Regions from separate parts of the Homo sapiens genome. Here region 1 is linked to region 2. The links are contacts of gene promoters, found by promoter capture Hi-C in human tissues and cell types (Jung and others, 2019). All regions are on one chromosome and are shown on one strand. Each heading gives the region's core, a stretch centred on a gene start or on the middle of the fragment in contact. The rest is flanking DNA. Distances are from core to core; before and after follow the strand shown.

Evidence for each region. Contacts are between HindIII fragments. The study calls those that stand out against the background at their distance.
Region 1: a fragment that was not itself captured here is called in contact with the fragment with the promoter of CABLES1 in region 2 in 5 of the 25 tissues and cell types used here (adrenal gland, bladder, mesendoderm cells and 2 more).

The regions. Positions count from the first base shown.
Region 1 is chr18:23,010,505-23,016,359 of GRCh38, reverse strand. The region is part of intron 16 of RBBP8 (RB binding protein 8, endonuclease); the gene reads right to left. Among named protein-coding and RNA genes, the nearest start is that of RBBP8-AS1, 80 kb to the right of the region's middle. The HindIII fragment of the contact is 5,014 bases long and covers 1,804-5,855 here.
Region 2 is chr18:23,133,234-23,139,040 of GRCh38, reverse strand. It overlaps CABLES1 (Cdk5 and Abl enzyme substrate 1), which reads right to left and starts at 3,556. Exons shown (of 10, transcript NM_001100619.3): 1 at 2,434-3,556. The coding sequence starts at 3,278. RefSeq lists silencers at 2,688-2,937, 3,038-3,247, 3,378-3,587, 3,708-3,787, 4,548-4,657 and 3 more and an enhancer at 4,208-4,357. The HindIII fragment of the contact is 17,284 bases long and covers 1-5,807 here.

The DNA.
Region 1 (5,855 bases), core at 3,061-5,560, 120 kb after region 2:
TTGGCCAGGCTAGTCTTGAACTCCTAACCTCAGGTGATCTGCCCGCCTCAGCCTCCCAAAGTGCTAGGATTACAGGCGTGAGCCACTGTGCCCAGGCTTTCACAGAAATATAAAAAAAAAATCCTAAAATTAGTCTGAAACCAGTAAAGTCATACCAATAGCCAAAGCAATCCTGAGCAAAAAAGAACAAAGCTGGATGGGCGCAGTGGCTCACTTGAGGTCAGGAGTTCGAGACCAGCCTGGCCAACGTGACAAAACCATGTCTGTGTTAAAAATACAAAAATTAGTTGGGTGTGGTGGCACAGGCCTGTAATCCCAGCTACTCAGGAGGCTGAGGCACAAGAACCGCTTGAACCCGGGAGGCAAATGTTGCAGCGAGCTGAGACTATGCCACTGCACTCTAGCCTGGGTGAGACTCTGTCTCAAAAAAAGAAAAAAAGCAAAAAAACAAAAACAAAAACAAGCTGGCGGCAACATACTATCAGACTTGAAAATATACGAAGCTACAGTTACCAAAACAGCATGGTACTGGCATAAAAACAGACACATAGAGCAATGGAACAGAGTACCAGAAATTAATGAATGCCTCTATAGTCAACTGATTTTTTTTACATAGGAGCCACGCACCTTCATTGGGGAAAGGATAGTCTATTTAATAAACGGTGCTGGTAAAACTGGATATCCACTGCAGAAGAATGAAAATAGGCCCCTATTTCTCACTCAATATAAAAATCAACTCAAAATGAGTCAAAGAACTAAATGTAAGACCCAAAACTATAAAACTACTAGAAAAAAAAAATACGGGAAATGTTTCAGGACAATGGTCTGGGAAAAGATTTTATGAATAAGACCTCAAAATAACAGACAATAAAAGCAAAAATATACAAGTGGGATTATACTGAAAGGCAATTACTATTACTTCTTATTTCTGCCTTTCACTGGCTGAAAATAACAATTAGGTTAGGAGGTAAAATATAATAACCTATTTAAAAATGAATACTGTATTATGAAACTCATAAATTGGCATTGTATAACATTAAAAAAAAATACTGCCTGTTTTCCAGTACTAAGAACCCAGATTTCAGGACTAACTTCTTCTGCCCAGAGAACAGATTCATCTGTTTGTATGCCATTTGCCATCCTATTTATGAGAAACATTACTGGCCAGGTGTGGTGGCTCATGCCTATAATCCCAGCACTTAGGGAGACTGGGGCAAAAGGGTTGCTTGAGACCAACACCAGGGGTTTGAGACCAGCCTGGGCAACATATCAAACCACCTGTCTCTACAAAAAATAAAAATAAAAAATTAGCTGGCTGTGGTGGCACACACCTATAGTCCCAGGTACTCAGGAGGCTGAGGTGAGAGGACTGCCTGAGCCCAGGAGTTTGAGGCTGCAGTGAATAATGATTGTGCCATTGCACTTCAGCCTAGGTAACAAAGTGAGATCCTGTCTCAAAACAAAACAAAACAAAAAAAAACCAGAAAAAAGAAAAAGAAAAATTACCTTATGCTGCTTCCACCTACCATGAATTCTTCAAAATATTAGGCATAACTATCATTTGTTGTTATTTTTAAATGAATAAGATCCTACTGTGAATCACGGAAACCTAGGAGGGTCAAAGCCACTAGGTATGGATTAATATGCTATGGAGTACGTTGGGAAGAAAAAGCAATCAAGAAGCACAACATTTTATTTTATTCATTATTATTTAGTTAGTTTGTTTTAAGACAGGTTCTTGCTTTGTTGCCCAGGCTGGAGTGAAGTGGCATGAGCATAGCTTACTGCAGCCTGAACTCCTGGGCTCAAGTAATCCCCCTGCCTCAGCCTCCTGAGTTAGCTAGGACTACAGGTGCAAGCCACAAGACCCAGCTAATTTTTGCTTTTTAGTACAGATGAGGTCTTACTATGTTGCCCAGGTTGGTCTTGAAGTCCTGGCCTCATGAATGTTTTCAATGTCATCTGGAATGGTGAATCCTTTCCAGAAGGTTTTCAGTTTACTTTGCCCATCACAGGAATCAATGGCAGGGATAGCCTTACAAACTGTATTTCTTAAATAAGAGAACTTGAAAGTCAAACTACTACTTGATCCAGTCTGCAGAACGATACGTGTTAGCGGGCATGAAAACAACATTCATCCAGCCTGGCCAACATGGTGAAACACTGTCTCTACTAAAAATACAAAAAAAAAAAATTAGCCAGGCGTGGTGGCACATGCCTGTAATCCCAGCTACTTGGGAGGCTGAGGCACGAGAATCACTTGAACTCGGGAGGCGGAGGTTGCAATGAGCCAAGATCGCGCCATTCACTCCAGCCTGGGTGACAGAGTGAGACTCTGTCTCTAAATAAATAAATAAATAAAAAATTCATCTCCTTGTACATCTCCATCAGAGCTCTTGGGTGACAACGTGCTTTGTCAATGAACAGTAGTATTGAGGTCACCTTTGCAAAAATTATGACAGTGGAAAAAATCTGACCTAGCTGACTTTATCTTGCTTTTAACCTTTAAGCTGTCTTTATTTTTGGGCATAGGCCAAATTAACTATGAGAAAAATTTAGTTTAACTTTAAAACAAAGATGACAACAGCTCCTTCTGGAAATCAGCCCTGTCCTTGCTCAGGGACTGAAACCACCTTTGTAAAACTAACAAATTAGCCACGAGGTTATTTTAAAACAAAGATGATTATCAGCTCCTTCCCAAAACTAACTCCTCCTTCTTGCTCAGAGACTTAAACCATCTATGTAAAACCAGCAAATCAGTCAAGAGGTTAAAATTATAGCTCAGTAGTGGAGTCATGCAGACAGAGGTCATGGGATTTCTAACCTCAATTGCTCCTACATACAAATGATATTACTATTATAAAACCTTGGGGTGTGAGGTATTTTTCAGACCCTACATTCTGACGGACCAGGTGGGCTCACCTGCGCTGGTAACTCATACCAAAAAACTGGTTCAATTGATCTTGTGATCCCACCCAAAAACCGACTCTGCAAAAAGACACCTTTGACCCCTATAATTTCATCCCCAACCCAACCAATCTCCATTCCCCGTTCCCAGCTCCCTCTCTGCCAAACTATCCTTAAAAAACCATAGCTTCCACATTTTAGGGGAAGGTGATTTAAATAATAACTCCAGTCCTCCCACTTGACTAACTCTGCAATTATTACACTCTTTCTCTACTATAATATCACTGTCTCAGTGAATCAGCTCTATTTGTATGGTGGGAAAAAAAGAAAAAACAACTGTTGGATGATTACAATATTTTGAAAGGATATCTTTTTTTTTTTTCTGATCAATAGGCTTAAAATATTTAGTAAACCATGCCATAAACAGATGTGCTGTCATCCAGGCTTTGTTGTTCTATTTCTAAAGCACAGGCACAGCAGATTGAGCATAATTCTTCAGGGTCCTAGGATTTTCAGAATGGTAAATGAGCACTGGCTTCAACTTGAAGTCACCAGCGCATTAACCCAAACAAGAGTCAACCTGTCCTTTGAAGCTCTGAAGCCAGGCACTGGTTTCTCCTCTCTAGTTATCAAAGTCATAGATGGCATCTTCTTCCAATAGAAGGCTGTTTCATCTGCACTGAAAATCTATTGTTTAGTTCAGCCACCTTCATCACTGATCTCAGCCAGATATTCTAGATCATTTGCTGCTACAGCTTCTATATCAGTACTTGCCATTTGCTTTGCACTTTTATATTATGGACATGGCTTCTTTCCTTAAACCTCATGAACCAACCTCTGCTAGTTTCAAACTTTTCTTCTGCAGCTTCCTCAAACTAAATAGAGTTAGAGGCTTGCTCTGGATTAGGCACTGGCTTAAAGGAATGCGGTGGCTGGTTTGATCTTCAATCTAGACCACTGAAATTTCCTCCATGTCAGCAGTGAGTCTGTTTCACTTTCTTACCATTGATGTGTTCACTGGAGTAGCACTTGTGATTTTCTTCAAGAACTTTCCTTTGCATTTGCAACTTGGCTGACTGGTGTAAAAGGCCTAGCTTTTTACCCATCTTGGCTTTTGAAATATCTTCCTCATTAAGCTTAATCATTTCTAGCATTTGATTTAAAAGTAAGAGATGTGCAACTCTTCCTTTCACTTGTATACTTAAAGGGCATCATAGTTGGTTTTTTTTTTTTTTTTTTTTTTTGGAGACAGCATCTCACTTTGTCTCCCAGGCTGGAGTGCAGTGGCGCGATCACAGCTCACTAGTCTCGACCTCCTGGGCTCAAGCAATCCTCCCACCTCAGCCTCCCGCAGTATAACAGTTGGAACTACAGGCGTGTGCCACCACGCTCAGCTAATTTTTTTTGTATTTTTTGTAGAGATGGAGTTCTTCCATGTTGCCCAGGCTGGTCTCGATTTGCTCATCACAGCCTCCCAAAGTTCTGGAATTACAGGCATGAGCCACCATGCCTGCTTCCATTGCAGGGTTCTTAACTGGCCTAATTTCAATGTTGTTGTGTCTCAGGGAATAGGGAGGCCCAAGAAGAGGAGGAGAGATGGGAAAATGGTCGGTTGGTGGAGCAGCCAGAACACACACGACATTCATTGATTGAGTTCGCTGTCTTACACGGGCATCGTTCATGATGACCCAAAACACTTATAATAACAGCATCAGGCCGGGCACGGTGGCTCACGCCTGTGATCCCAGCACTTTGGGAGACCTAGGCAGGCGGATCATGAGGTCAGGAGATCGAGACCATCCTGGCTAACATGGTGAAACCCCATCTCTACTAAAAAAACACAAAAAAATTAGCCAGGCGTGGTGGCGGGCACTTGTAGTCCCAGCTACACAGGAGGCTGAGGCAGGAGAATGGCATGAACCCGGGAGGCAGAGCTTGCAGTGAGACAAGATGGCACCACTGCACTCCAGCCTGGCGACAGAGCGAGACTCTGTCTCGAAAAAAAAAAAAAAATAGCATCAAAGATCACTGATCACAGAACACTGTAACAGATATAATAATGAAAAAGTTTGAAATATTGTGAGAATTACTAAAATGTGACACAGAAACATGAAGTAAGCACATGTTGTTGGAAAAATGCCGCTGACAGATTTGTTCAAACAGGGTTGCCACATACCTTCAATTTGTAAAAAACAGTATCTGCAAAGTGCAATAAAGCACCATGAAACAGAAAGTATACCTTAAATAGAAGTGTAATAAAAAGATCACATACATGCCCCTCTAGTTGGCAAGCACTTTCCCTCAAAAAGAAAAGTTTTAGTCACTCTAAGTATAAGTCCTTTTTTGTTTCAACTCAAGAACCCTCAGCTCTGGTGTGATCTGTGAATTAGAAAAGGGAAACCAGAAAAGTACACACAAAAAATATTGCCACAACTATATTTTCTTTCAAAGAGTTTATGGACTCCTAAGATTATGCAGATCACATTTTGGCCATATCCTTTCTTCTGAATATTAACTACTCCACTTCTATAGTGTCTTATCGTGACGTAGGGAATCTCCTAGCAGAACAGCATCTGTAGTAGACCTCAAAGCATCACTTAAACAAGCTTCTTGTCCCTGATACTACACAATCCATCTTCCCAGGTTTGCAGTCTTAGTATTCTCAGTGGAAAAAGCAACAATGTAACTCTGAGAATTCTAGCATCTCCATGCCTCCATCCCCACACTTCCATTCACCTCTTGTTCTCCAGCTATCTAATTGCTTCAGAATAAATAAAACTACTCATACATATTTTCTAAAAAACTAGTGAACCTTTAACATGAAACATTTAAAATGACAGTTCTTTTTTTTTTTGGAGACAGGGTCTCACTCTGTTGGCCCAGGCTGGAGTGCAGTGGTGTGATCATAGCTTACTGCAGCCTTGACTTCCTGGGCTCAAGCGATCTTC
Region 2 (5,807 bases), core at 2,307-4,806:
TTCAGATACACTGTGGCAACACTTGTCGAAATTTAATTTGTATACAAATCACCTGAGGATCTCGTTAAACTGCAGATCTGGACTCACGTAGTCTGGAGTAGGGAAGAGTCTGCATTTCTAACTGCTCCCAGTGAAGCTGAAGGTGCAAAGCCCACATTCTGGAGCAGCAAGGTGCTATGGAATTCCACTAATGGCAAGAAATGAATCCAAGGAAAATACAATTTGATATGAAAACATCCCAGGAGACCATCCGTGAGGTAACATGTACATGGAAACACACAGGCTAGCAGGGAGGCACACCAGGAAAGGTTTCCACAAATGGAAACCAGAAAAGCTGGCCTCGGGCCTTATTCAAGTGAGTCTGTGCTCTCAGCACACTTCAACTAGGCAGGTGCAAGTACTCTAGTGATAAGACAAGCGGCGTGGTGTTGGCAACAAAGCATCCTGGGATATTTCAAGTCTGCAGCCTCTCCACAGCTAAGCTAGCCTTTCCGCCTTTCTTAAATCAGTGTAACCTATTTTTCCCCTTTGTACCCAAAATTTAAGCTGTTTCTGTTCACAGCTGTAATTTTATAAAAGCCTATCAGGTTGCCAGATACGGATTATTCAGAAATAGGATGAAAGTGACTGTCAGGTAAAGAAGCATCTTCCAGTGATTAATTCATCTTAATGTGTGTGCCGAGGTGAAAAGGATCAATAAAACGCCTAAAAGATTCATATTTATAGGATTGGAGGTGGCGTTCTGGATATTCTTTGGTTCAGAAATGCGAACACACAAGATCTTCCATATCCCCTGAAATGAGTTTCTTGGAGAAAGCGTGCGAGGTAATCTGATCTCCAGCTGCCTTTAGCATGGAGGACACATCTGTCCATCAGGAGACACAAGCCAGCTTTGCACACTGGCTTAGAATAACACGTATGTTTATTACAATTCCTGTCATAACCCTCTTGACTGCTGGGCTTAGGCTGCAAGTCTGGAGTCACCATGAGCCAGTGTGTGATGTCAAGCGGTAATACTGAGCTGCCCAGAAACGCTGAGTTTGCAGGACTCACCCAGAAACAAGGGATACCACCTCCCTGCCCTCACCTGCTGCGGGGGAGATGCATGCTCTGACAAGAAATACTGGAGTAGGGCTGTCACCTGTGCCCAGTGTCGCTAATTCATCCATGCACTTATGAGGCTGCTTCCCCGGTTCCACACCCCTGGCTTGCGGGCCATGCGCACTCAAACAGCGAGGCTACATAACTAGCACCCTCATGATTTCACCCACTTCGGAAGAAGTACACTAGGGGCAAACTTGTGGATGAGGCGGGCCTGTTCTTCCCCCATTTGTCCATTGCGGGAGGAAGTTAAGTTTTCCCATAGGCACCTTCTTACTTGGGCCAGATCAAGCTTTCAGGTAAGCATGATAGGAGAGAGAAATTCTAGCAGAGAAAGTCATTCTTTCCCAGAAGGGATAACTGAGGCCCCAAGAAGTTAAAACAACTTTGTCAAGGTAGGGTCTATGCTATTGCTAACTTCACAAGAGGCCTTATTAACCAACAAGGGAGGGCACTCCCTAGGAACGGATCTGCATTTCCCCACCTGTTCCCGCCTACTCGCCTACTTCTTTTGCAAGCTTCAGTTCACACAGTCCCAACCTCCGACTGCCCCTTAGAATAATACATGGTGACAAACTCTATTTCCTGAACAATAAGCAAACGTCCAGCGTTTCATGTTTTTGCTAAGACGCCTAATGCCGCCAGATAACTTCAGCTAACAAACAAGTAAAACAAGCGTTTAACGAACTCAAGCAAATTCATCTTGGAATAGGAAAAAAATCCCTCAAGCCCTATTTCCTCTTTGTTCCCCACCCCCCTAGGCCTAGTTGGAGGCAATGTAAGAAGGACTTTCCATTGCTCAGGAAAGCAAATGGAAAAAGCCAAGTTTCCCCGGGCCGCAAGAAGACTTGGAGCGCAGGCAAGAACTTCTCCGGAGGGTCACGCGTGTCTGCTACAAGTTCAGGCTCACACGCGCCGCTCAGCTGCCGGCCTGCACTGCTCCACTCTGCGCCCGGCCGAGTCTCGCCCCACGCGGGGAAGAGTGCGCCTCCGGGTCTGGACCGGGTTTCAGGAAGTTTGTGATCTCGTGTGGGGAGGCTCGGACGCCGCTTTCTACTGGGCTCCTGCAACTCCCAATTCCCGACCCACTGCACAAGCGCGGTGCTCCTCTGCGAATGCTGGGCTCGTGCAAACACGTGTAACCCCGCACTCCCTGGGGACGCCCCCTCTTTTGGGTGCCCTCGTGGTTTGGGATTCGGGCCCGGAGCACAGGATCCGGCAGGGCGCGGGAAAATGGGAGCAACCCGTGTCCCGTAGCCCAGAGACCGCGGGGAGGCTGGGAGCGCCGGGCGGGACGCAGGGTTGGGTGCGCGTCGCATCCCGGATACTCACCGGGACCTCTGCAGCTGCTCGAAGGCGCTGGTGCTGCCGCCCTGGCCTGGCTGCTCCAGGGAGCAGTAGTTCTGCGAAGTCGGCCTGGAGAAGGCGATGGGCAGGATTCCCTGAGTGAACGAGTTGAGGCGTCCCCGACTGCCGCTCCCACTCCCGGGGGTCCCGGAGCCCAAAAAGGCGGCCGCCGGCACCTGCACGCTGATAAAGGCATCGTCCTCCTCCAACTCCTCCTGCCCGGCGGCCCCGGACCCGTCGAGCAGCTGCAGTTGGGCACAGGCGGCGAGAGGCGCCGGCCGGGGCGGCTGCCACTGCTCCCCCGACGCCCGGCCGGCGCCCAGGGGACTCGCGAACCCCCGCGCCACCCCGGGGCCGGACACGGTCGCATGGCCGCCAGGAATCAAGGGCGGCAGCGACGAGGGCTGTGGGAGGCAGGGGCCGGACCCAGCGGCTAACCCCGCAGCCGGCGTGCCCGGCGCGGCGAGCGCGATGCAGCCGCCCCGCTCGGCAGCGGCGAGCAAGCTGAACCGAGTCCTCGCGCCGCAGGCGCCGCCGGCGCCCGGCTTGGCCGCGCCGCCCTCCTCGCCACCGCCCCACTCCGCGTCCTGCGGCGGCAGCCGGCCGTCCAGCGAGATGTTGGTGAGGAAGGAGAGGGCAGCCTGGCGGCGCCGCGGGTCCATGCGCGGCTTCCGGGGGGGTTCGGGCGGCGGCTGGGCCGGCGCGGCGGCCGCGGGCTGAGGCTGGGGCTGCGGCGGCGGCTGCTGCAATCCGCTGGCGCCCGCGGCGTCGGTGCCGGCGCTGCCGCTGCTGCAGGCGGCCGTGGTGGCGGCCGCCGCCGCCGCCGCCATTGTGTCCGTCTGCGGCGGGATTTCCGCGATGCCCGGAGAAGCGAGCGGCGCCCGAGCGCTAAGCGGCGGGCGCGAGCGGCGGCGACCCGGGCTGGGTAGGGCGCGGGGATCGGGCGGCGTGCGCGGCGGTCCAGCCCCCCCGCGGGCGGGCCATGCTCGCCCCTCGGTGCTGGGGATGGGGGCGCCGCCGCCCCGGCCCACGCGCACGCCTCGCTACCTAGCTCGGCTAGTTCGGCTCGCTGGCTGGCCGCCCGCCGGTCGCCTGGCCGCTGGCTCGCGGGCTCCGGGGCCGGGTGTCCGTATTTATAGGTGCGCGCGCCCCGCGCTCGCGCTCCAAAGCCCTCTTTGCAATAACACGGAATCACGTGTGGGGAATGCGACCTGGGAGGAAAACAAAGCCGCAGGCGGCGGCCGCAGAGGCAGACGGCGGGAGGCAAGGGGCCACGGGAGGAGGAAGAGGAGGACGCGAGAGCCGAGCGGGTGGTGGGGCGGGGGATCGGCCCGGCTGTCCGGGTTGTCGGAGCTGCCTGCTGGGAGAGTTGGCGACTCCCGGGGCCGCGGAAGCCAGGTGCGGGAGGCGAGCACGTTTCCCCCGCGCGCTCGCACTGGGAATTGGGTGAGCGAGCAGAACCCGGTGGGTTAGGTCCTGGGGCTGTGCTCCTGGGAGAGTTGTGGGTCTACAGGACGGTTATGTGGAGCGTTGCAGAGTTTTGGACTGCGAGCGAGTTACTTGGACCCCGCAAGGCCGTTGGTCCCCGAGAAGTAAATAGATCCTTTTCATAATAACACGGGTAAGTCCACAGCCCCTATGGAGACTGTCCCACCGTAAAGCTATCGCTAACAACCATTGCAGTTGGGTCTATTCATTCCCAGGCCAAGGATGCAGCCCCCGGGATAAATGCACGCCTTGGGATGCATAAGAGCCCAGAAGCACGAACATCTTACATGTGGCCAACGAACTCACGCATCCCCAATCCATGGTATTGTCACTTTTCATCTCTCTCTTAGCAAAGGACAACGCAAATTTTTTACTTTGGCTCTGAAATGTGCTCCATTTTCTGTGAAGACCCAGGTGGGCTAAAATGACCTTACACTCTTTTCCCCTGGTCACCTTGCAAATTTTTGTAGATTATGATCTCTTCTCCCTCATAAACTGGGACCAATGTGGACAGTTACCCTGTCGTTTATCTCATAAGCACGTTTGGCACCTACCATGTCTTCTATAAATACGGGTTCCTGACGGCCCTCCCAGAGCAGTAGCTCTGAATCTGGGAGGAGTCGCAGTCCCCACCCACAACGAATGCTTGTTTTGGTTGGGGGTGGGGGCGGGGGCGGGGACAGGGTGGAGGAGTTCACCTGGAGGGATCTGAAAACGTGTGCGGGTTTCCCCAGGCGGTATGGGCAACTTAACAAATGCAGTAAGGAACAATTGCCACACTGAATTAAGCTCTGTGACACCTAAGAAACCTGCTGCACTTTTGAGGGAGAAGCAATGTGTTTCAGATCAACGGATTAATTTAATTAAAGGTTTAAATTTAGCCCTGGAGCTAATGGGTAACTCTACATTGAAATTCCACTCCATTTCAAGTTCAGGAAAGTAAATTGAGTAATGGAGAGCAAATACACCGTCCAGAGAGGTGCCGCCAACCCGGAGTGCCAGACAGAGAGGGTTTCAGGTTACATTTGCTCAGGACAGAGATGGCACGTGGCCCTTTACATGAACAATCGTTGTTATATTTTATTTTGTGCTGTTTTTAGGCCTTTTGAAAACATGGAGCCTGGTGTCTGTTTACAGCAGCCTCATGTCAGTGGAGTCAAAGCTCAATGGCCAGCTCTGTGAAATTTCACCAGGATTTTAATTATTTTGGCTAACTACCTTGAAACTTCCAAGCCCTTTTATGACAATTGACTTAATTTACATGACCACTGGCCTGGTTGGGAGGCAGTGTTAAGTGAAAGACTCCAACGGTGCTCCTGTAAAATATATTTTCCATCATTCAAAAATGATAAATGTTAATTTCAGAACATAAGATAAGCAAAGAGGAGCAAAAAAAAAGGGGGTATCACTAACAATATCTTCTGTGGAAATAACGTAAAACTTAAATTTTGATTTCTGTTTTGTATTTTCATATATTTTATAGAGAGATATGTATATATATTCTTTTAGCCTGTCACCCAGGCTGGAGTGCACTGGTGTGATCATAGCTCACTGCAGACTCCTGAGCTCAAGCGATTCTCTCTGCCTCAGCCTCGCGAATAGCTGGGACTACCGGCACCCACCACACCTGGCTAATTTTTTTAAAAAAATTTGGCCTGGCACGGTGGCTAAAGCCTGTAATCCCAGCACTTTAGGAGGCCGAGGCAGGCAGATCACGAGGTCAGGAGTTCGAGACCAGCCTGGCCAACATGGTGAAACCCTGTCTCTACTAAAAATACAAAAATTAGCTGGGCATGGTGGTACGTGCCTGTAATCCCAGCTACTGGGGAGGCTGAGGCAGGAGGGCAGGAGAACGGCTTGAACCCAGGAGG